Regions from separate parts of the Homo sapiens genome. Here region 2 is linked to region 1. Evidence: promoter capture Hi-C in 16 types of primary human blood cells and fetal thymus (Javierre and others, 2016). All regions are on one chromosome and are shown on one strand. The core of a region is centred on a gene start or on the middle of the fragment in contact, and the rest is flanking DNA. Distances in the headings are between cores, read along the strand shown. Region 1 holds the start of TPRKB (TP53RK binding protein). Region 2 overlaps CCDC142 (coiled-coil domain containing 142).

Region 1 (4,414 bases), core at 571-3,070:
AACGGACTAGCTTTGCTAAAGGGTATAATCTGGGTTAAGGGCATAGACTGCAGGACAGTTCTCCAGGTGGCCTTGGACCAATTTAGTTCTCTCTCCTTTCTCACTTGTGGTTCTCTAGGATAACTGTAGAATGTGCTGGGAATGTAGCATCCTGTGATAGAGAGAGACTAACCAGACCAGCCAGGGCCCTGTTCCAGTGTCTCCCAGAAATAGAATGTCCTTCATATATATATGTATATATATATATATATATTTTTTTTAATTTTAATTTTTATTTATTTATTTTTTTTTGAGAGGGAGTTTCACTCTTGTTGCCCAGGCTGGAGTGCAATGGCGCGATCTCAGCTCATGGCAACCTCTGCCTCCCCAGATCACGTGATTCTCCTGCCTCAGTCTCTTGAGTAGCTGGCATTACAGGCATGAGCCACCATGCCTGGCTAATTTTTTATTTTTTAGTAGAGACGGGGTTTCTCCACGTTGGTCAAGCTGGTCTCGAACTCCCGACTTCAGGTGATCTGCCTGCCTCGGCCTCCCAAAGTGTTGGGATTACAGGCGTGAGCCACCGCACCTGGCCGAATGTTCTTCATGTTTTAGCCCAGTGTGTCATGCCTCCCCACCTCTTCCCCCTGCCCCTGCCCCCTGCAATTAGGCTGTTGCATTGCCACAAAGAAATACCTGAGACTGGGTAATTTATATAGAAACGAGGTTAAATTGGCTCATGTTTCTGCAGGCTGTACAGGAAGCATAGTACCACCATCTGTTTGGCCTCTGAGGAGGCCCCAGGGAGCTTTTACTATTGGCAGAAGGAGAAGAGAGAGCAGGCACATCACATGGTGAGAACTGGACCAAGAGACTGTGTTGGAGGGTGCCACACACTTCTAAATAACCACATCTTCCTGGCACTCACTCACTATTGCAAAGACACCAAGCCATGAGAGATCCACTTCCATGACCCAAACACCTCCCATCAGGTCCCACCTCCAAAAATGGGGACAATTCAACATGAGATTTGGCAGGGACATATATTCAATCCATCCCTGGACCCCCAAATCTCATGTCCTTCTGACATTGCAAAACATAATCATGCCTTCCCAATCACCTACCAAAATTTTAACTTGTTCCAGCATTAAACTCAAAAGTCCAAAGTGTCACAGGAGACATGGCCCAGAAAAAGAACTAATCCCAGCTCCTTGGGAGGCCAAGGCGGGTGGATCACGAGGTCAGGTGATCCAGACCATCCTAGCTAACACGGTGAAACCCCGTCTCTACTAAAAATACAAAAAATTAGCGGGGCGTGGTGGCGGGTGCCTGTAGTCCCAGCTGCTCGGGAGGCTGAGGCAGGAGAATGGCTTGAACCGGGACGCGGAGGTTGCAGTGAGCCGAGATTGCACCACAGCACTCCAGCCTGAGTAACAGAGCAAGACTCTGTCTCAAAAACCAAAGAAATCTCCAGCAGCGGAAATGTATGTAGAACTCATTTTGGTCAGTACTTTTCCTTGTACAGGAAGAAACTGAGGTCGCCCGGTGCAACGCCCAACACAGGTTAAGACAAAGCCGAGACTCAAAACCAGACCCCAGCTTCCGGTCCCAGCCCATAGATTCTTCCATTTCCTTCGCCGGAAGTGATATACAGCCCCTGTTCTCCTTCGCGTCCGTTGACGGGACCCAGGTTGGGGAGGCGGAAGAATGGGCGGGACCATGGGCGGAAGCACCCCTCCTACCAGGACCCGGAAACAGATGGCCACCCCGAGCCGGCCTATCCGGAAACTGGCTCGAAGAAGACGGGGATTGGCCATCGCTTCCGGAAGTTGTGAGCTTTGTTTCGGAGCGGGAGCTCTTCCGAGACGCACTGGGGGCCGGATGGTGAGTTTTCCTTGCGCTCTAACGGGCAGGCTCGGGAGCGGGAGGGTCCGGGCAGTTTTAGTAGTGTCTTTGGGACAACGGCTGCGGTTGGTATTTCTCAAGCGGCAACGAGGCCAGCCCCTGGGAATGCAGCACGAGAATGATAGAGTCAGGCTGTCCCCTCAAGAAATAGTTTAGTGAGGAGACATGCAGCGGATAGGCGCAGGATTCTTCAGAGTTGTGATTGGGCCCAAAAAGGAGCTAGTCCTCAGACTAAAAAGAGCCGTAGTGCCGGGGTTCTGGGCGCTGTAGTAAATGGACTCCAAATGGAGTTGAAGGGAGGGAGGAGTGCGTCAGGCGGAGATGAAAGGAGAGAGGGAACTACCTGTCCGATAGGGCAGAATCGGGGAGAAAGGTTGGTGACTTGAGCTTAGAGAAGGCCATTGCGGCGGTAGCAGAAGAGGAGAGGCAGGGACCAGATCGTAGAGTGTGGAACACCGTGACACAAAGTTGGGGCTTTATCATAAGAGCAGCAGAATGACAAGATCTGATGTACATTTTGAAAGGATCACTGTAACTGCTGGTGACGACTGGATTATAGGAGGGCAGGAATTGTGAGAAACCACTCAGAAGGCTACTGCTGTAGATGAGCGATGTGACCTAGCGTATGGGAGAGAAGTGGACGAATCAAAAGTATATTTAGCAGGTGAAAATTCAGGACTTTACGGATTAGATATAGGATTTGAGTGACAGGTTGGGTCTCAACGATGATTCCAAGTTTCTGACCTGAGTGAGTAAATTACGCTAAACAAGAACAAACTATTTTGAAGTTTTCTAAGGGTTCTTCCCCCCACTCAGTGTTAAAAAGCACGTTTTTTTCCTTTCTTATTATGTGTACTCATGTTTTGTGTGCTTACTGTAGAAAATTCAGAACATACATAACAAAATATTTTCTTTTATATAAAGGACAATAAAAATCACCTCATAACCTCACTACCCAAGATGGTCATATTTTAGTGTTTCTTTCATGTATTTTAAAAAAATATGTGTATCTTTTTATATAATTGGGATCCTACTGATTATGTCTTTCTGTATCCATTTTTTCCACCTTAGCATGACTAATGATTGAACTGTGTGCCAGGATATCGTTCACAAATATATTTTTTTCTGTTTGTAACAGAAAAAGTCAAATTAATTCTAAATAAGAGATAACATTAACTTTTTGGTGTATTTTCTTTTTAATATTTGTTTAAAAGCCTTTTAAAAAACCCACATTTTGGCCAGTTTGTGTTTTGTTTTCCATTCAGATGTTTTTACTTACTTAATGTTATTTATTGCCGTTTTTACACACCGTCAAGACCACATGTTTTAATGGTTGTTAAATAACAACTAATCCCATCATTAGCTAGATAGGTTATTTGCAACTTTTTACTGTTAAAATAATGAGAGGAACATCTTATATAATTATTGGATTCCTAATGACTTCCATCAGAAAGAGTTCTAGAAATATAATCTGCCAGGTAAAAGGATAAAATGAGTCTCAAATTGCCCCACCAAAATATTTTATTAAGAATTTGATAGAAATTGTTTTAAAGAAATTTTTGCAATACATAGTTTTTCCATTCAAAGATATGGTCATGTCTTTCTGGTTATTCAAGTTGTCTTTTATGTTTCTTTTATGTCTTTATATATAATAACCTATCCTTTTCTTGTTAAGCTTATGTCCAAGAAAGGAGCGACATTGATTATTTAATAATTGTACCCTCTCTGCTTAATTTCCATGCGTGGAATGAATATCTTTGGGTCAAGTGGGATACTTTATCCTTTTTTTTTATTTTTATACTTTAAGTTCTAGGGTACATGTGCACAACGTGCAGGTTTGTTACATCTGTATACATGTGCCATGTTTGTATGCTGCACCCATTAACTCATCGTTTACATTAGGTATATCTCCTAATGCTATCCCTTCCCCCTATTCTTTTTTTTTTTTGAGACGGAGTTTCACTCTTGTTGCCCAGGCTGGGGTGCAATGGTATGATCTCGGCTCACTGCAACCTCTGCCTCCCAGGTTCAAGCGATTCTTCTGCCTCAGCCTCCTGAGTAGCTGGGATTACAGGCATGCGCCACCATGCCTGGCTAATTTTTTTGGCATTTTTAGTAGAGACGGGGTTTCTCCATGTTGGTCAGGCTGGTCTCGAACTCCCAACCTCAGGTGATCTGCTCGCCTCGGCCTCCCAGAGTGCTGAGATTACAGGCATGAGCCACTGCACCCAGCCTACTTTATTCTTTAAAATTATTTTCTTCCTTAATATTTATGTCTAGGCCTTCCTAAAATATAAATAAAATGATGAGATCAGGAAGTTAAAAAGACTAAGATAGAGTAAGACTTCATTAATACCGTAAGCAACCTCTGGTTTAAAAAATTCCTGACATTCTGCTCCTACTTGTCTGCTGGGGAAGCAGCCCTTCAACCATGCACCTGAGCCTGCCTCATCTGAACAAACAGCAACCAGCTGGGCCCCTTGGCGTTTCCCTGGGGATGACAACAGAACAACTCAGAAGGGTTAGGAAG
Region 2 (4,414 bases), core at 969-3,468, 740 kb before region 1:
ATTGCTTGAGGCCAGGAGTTCGAGACCACCAGGGGCAACATAGCGAGACCACCCTAGGCAACACAGACTCCCATCTCTCCAAAAATTAAAAAATTTAGCTGAGCATGGTGGCATGCGCCTGTACTCCCAGCTACTTGGGAGGCTGAGGCAAGAGGATCGTTTGAGCCCAGGAGGTCAAGGCTGCAGTAAGCTGTGATAGCCACTGCATTCCAGCCAGCCTAGGCAATACAGTGAGAGACCCTGTCTCAAAAAATAAAATAGTGCATGTCTATAGTTTAAAAAGTGAAATAGAATATTATTTTATAAAACTAATGAAAAAACAGCACTTTGTTTGCCCTCACTCACCTCTGATTTCTATTTCACAGTAGTAACCTTCATCCATGTTTGCCTGTTTCTCCTAACATTTTCTTATATGTTTATGAATAAAGCCATTATACTTTTTCTTCCCCATTTTGCACATTTATCTATTCCTATGTGGAAGATGTCTGGTTTTTTGTTTTCCTGCTCAGTTTTCTCCTCTTTGCCCCGAATAGGGGTGTGGCTGTAGAGTTCAGTCCTTAACTCTCTGCTTTTCTCTCAGTATTCCTGCTTACCCACAGTGTCTTGCTGCTGTGAACTCCCGGGTTCAGTCTTTCTGGCTCCCAGAGTTCTTTTTTTTTTTCTAAGATGGGGTCTCACTGTCACCCAGGCTGGAGTGCAGTTATGTGATCTTGGCTCACTGCAACCTCCACCTCCTGGGCTCAAGCAATCCTCCCACCTCAGCCTCCTGAGTAGCTGGAACCACAGGTGGAAGCCACAATGCCCAGCTACTTTTTTTTTTTTTTTTTTTGAGAAGGTGTCTCACTCTGTCACCCAGGCTGGAGTGCAGTGGCGTGATCTCTACTCACTGCAACCTCCACCTCTCAGGTTCAAGTGATTCTCCTGCCTCAGCCTCCTGAGTGGCTGGGATTACAGGCGCCTGCCACCACGCCCAGCTAGTTTTTGTATTTTTAGTAGAGATGGGTTTCACCATGTTGGCCAGGCTGGTCTGGAACCCTTGACCTCAGGTGATCCACCCACCTCAGCCTCCCAAAGTGCTGGGATTATAGGTGTGAGCCACCACACCCGGCCAATGCCCAGCTACTTAAAAAAATTTTTTTTTTTGTAGAGACAAGGTTTTGCCATGTTGCCCAGGCTGGTCTTGAACCCTTTTTAAAAATCTTTTTAAAAAACTTTTTTGGGAGGCCAAGGTGGGTGGATCGCCTGAGGTCAGGAGTTCAAGACCAGCCTGCCCAACGTGGTGAAACCCCGTCTCTACTAAAAATACAAAAAAGTAGCCGGTATGGTGGCAGGTGCCTGTAATCCTAGCTACTTCTGAGGCTGAGGCAGGAGAATCGCTTGAACCTAGGAGGCGGAAGTTGCAGTGAGCCGAGATAGCGCCATTGCACTCCAGCCTGGGCAACAAGAACAAAAATTCTGTCTCAAAAAAAAAACAGAAAACAAAAAAATTTTTTGTCCAGGTGCAGTGGCTCACACCTGTAATCCCAGCACTTTGGGAAACCGAGGCAGGTGGATCATCTGAGGTTAGGAGATCAAGACCGGCCTGGCCAACATGGTGAAACCCTGTCTCTTCTAAAAATACAAAAATTAGCTGGACATTGTGGTGTACACCTGTAATCCCAGCTACTCGGGAGGCTGAGGCAGGAGAATCACTTGAATCCGGGAGGCGGAGGTTCCAGTGAGTCGAGAGCGTGCCATTGCATTCCAGCCTGGGCAACAGAGTGAGACTCAAAAAAAAAAAAGTATATATATATATTTTATTTATATTATATCTATATATATTTTATTTATATTATATCTATTTATATATATATATATTTTTTTTTTAATTAGAAGTTTGGCTCGTGACATAGCCCTCAGGAGATCTGAGAACATGTGCCCTGTTCTTGAACTCTTGAGCTCAAGCAATCCACCGCCTTGGCCTCCCAAAGTTCTGGGATTACAGGCATGAGCCTCCACACCCAGCCTGGCTCCCAGAGTTCTAGTTAAACATCTGCATTTGCCTGTTGGGCATTTCTACCTCAGTTTACTGCTGTCTACTTAAACTCAACATGCCCCAGAGCAGGCTCATCATGAGTACTGCACACAGTGACGGTCATAGAGCCCTGAGGAAGGAAGGCTATAGTGGGCATGTGGTTAAAGAACGCTCCATACATGGCCTATGGCTGGAGATGGTGGCTGGGAAGCCTCAGAGGAGTGGCTGGGGTTACTGGAAGTGGGCAGTTTGTAGATCCTTGTGGGGGTAGCAGAGAGGTGGCCTTACCAGAGCAGAGGTTCCTTTTGTGGGTATGTTCACTGGGGTTGGGTGTGGGGTAGGGTAGTAAGCAATTTGGCATCAAATTGTGGAGGGCATGAACACCAGCCCCAACAATTTGCGCTTTACCTCATAAGTGAGGGGGTGACATTTTAAGAGCAGAAGGGTGTAATCCCAGCATTTCGGGAGGCCGAGATGGGTGGATAACTTGAGGTCAGGAGTTTGTGACCAGCCTGGCCAACATGGTAAAACCCCATCTCTACTAAAAATACAAAAATTAGCCAGGCATGGTGACGGGTGCCTGTAATCCCAGCTGCTCAGAGGCTGAGGCATGAGAATCGGTTGAACCCAGGAGGCAGAGGTTGCAGTGATCTGAGATTGCGCAACTGCACTCCAGCCTGGGCAATAAGAGCGAAACTTGGTCTCAAAAAAAAAAAAAGAGGCATTGTGAGTTTTCTTCCTGTTTGGACTATAAGATCCCAGTGGGTGGGGGAGAGACTGTCACACACTCTGCACCTTGTATTCCCTCAGTGTTGAGTACAGAGGCTCCTAACAAAAGTCCGTTGACAAAAGGGCAATTTCCTTGACATAAATAAGGGAGGAGAAGGGGGCTTGCATTTACTGGAGAAGAGAGGAAGATTTTGGATTTAGACAGGTTGTCAGATGTGCCAGGAGCCATATGGGCTCCACTCCATGTCTGGCCGCCCCCAGGTCTATCCTGTCTTCAGGCTCCCTGGCATCTACCATTTCTTTACAGAGCAGCTGCCATTAACCACATTTACTGGGGTTCCTCTCCCTCAAGATGGGCTGTAGAGCAGAAACCAGCTTTATTGCTGTGTTCTCTCCCTCCAAAAACAACCTATCAAACCAAAGAAACAAACCCAGCATATAGGCCTTTTCTTGCTTTATGGGTTATATTGCTCTGGAGTGGGCTGTGAAGAATAATAATATATAATAATGCCTTTCAATGTAAGGACATTCCAAAACTTCCTGAGTCTCAGAACATTCAAATAGTCATTGCTTCTGGTTTACATACAGTTCTTGTCTTCCTTTTGTAGGTGATAACCAAAAGATCATTGTAGGCTGGGTGTAGTGGCTTAGTGGCTCACATCTGTAATCCCAGCACTTTGGCAGGCAGAGGCAGGCCGATCACCTGAGATCAGGAGTTTGAGACCAGCCTGACCAACATGGCAAAACCTTGTCTTTACTAAAAATACAAAAATTAGCTGGGTGTGGTGGTGCACTCCTGTAGTCCCACCTACTTGGGAGCCTGAGGCAGGAGAATCACTTGAACCCGGGAGGCAGAGGTTGCAGTGAGCCGAGATCACGCCACTGCACTCCAGTCTGGGCGACACAGCAAGACTCTGCCTCAAAAATAAAAGGTCGTTGTAATTCCCCTTTCTTCCCTCAATTTCTGCCCATTGCAGATCATACAATCCCTCTTTCTGGCATATGCTCTGTGTGTGTGTGTGTGTGTGTGTGTGTGTGTGTGTGTGTGTGTGTGTGTGTGTGTGTGTTGCGGGGGTGGGGGCAGGGTATGTCTTTCTTTTTCCTTAAAGCTCTTGTATAGTAAAATTAACCTCAAGGATTTTCCATCTTTTGAACCAAGCTGGGGAGAGCAAGGTAATCCTAGGGCAATTGTTCATAATTTGGGTCCAGACCTCTTGGAAAACCCAATGACAACTATGGCATTGCTCCTCAAAAAATGGCCAGGCATACACAACTATGCAACAATTCTGGGGTTTTATGGATGTCAAGTTGGACATAGAGCTCCTTAGATATAGAGGATCATCATAATTTGACAAGCCCCTTTTACTTTCTCCCTATCCCTACAGCTCCTGCCTGAAGAGTCACTAAGTGTCTTTTCTCAAGAATGTCATAAACAAGCCATGCAAGGTTTCAAGCTCTACATGCCACGGGGTCGGTACTGGCGGCTTCGTCTCTGTCCTGGTAACTCCTCATCCCAGCTTCTCCTTCCAGAGTTCCAAGGGGGTAATAGTGTCTCAGCCCTTCCAAATTCCGGTTCCCCTCCACTGTCTCCATCCTTGTCCTCAGCTTCTGTACCCTTCCCTCCTGAAATCCTACCCTCTTCTCCCAAACACTCCATTTAGGGGTTCAATG

The links. The method cuts DNA at HindIII sites, captures the fragments that hold promoters and counts their contacts. A CHiCAGO score of 5 or more calls a contact.
Region 2: a contact is called between a fragment that was not itself captured here and the fragment with the promoter of TPRKB in region 1, in 1 of 17 cell types (non-activated CD4 T cells). The highest score is 5.9, in non-activated CD4 T cells.

The regions. Positions count from the first base shown.
Region 1 is chr2:73,734,751-73,739,164 of GRCh38, reverse strand. It overlaps TPRKB (TP53RK binding protein), which reads left to right and starts at 1,820. Exons shown (of 5, transcript NM_016058.5): 1 at 1,820-1,863. RefSeq lists enhancers at 1,379-1,438, 1,479-1,558. The HindIII fragment of the contact is 15,665 bases long and covers 1-3,561 here.
Region 2 is chr2:74,475,441-74,479,854 of GRCh38, reverse strand. CCDC142 (coiled-coil domain containing 142) reads left to right here. Exons shown (of 9, transcript NM_001365575.2): 6 at 4,129-4,243. Among named protein-coding and RNA genes, the nearest start is that of MRPL53, 5.0 kb to the right of the region's middle. The HindIII fragment of the contact is 6,387 bases long and covers 1-4,414 here.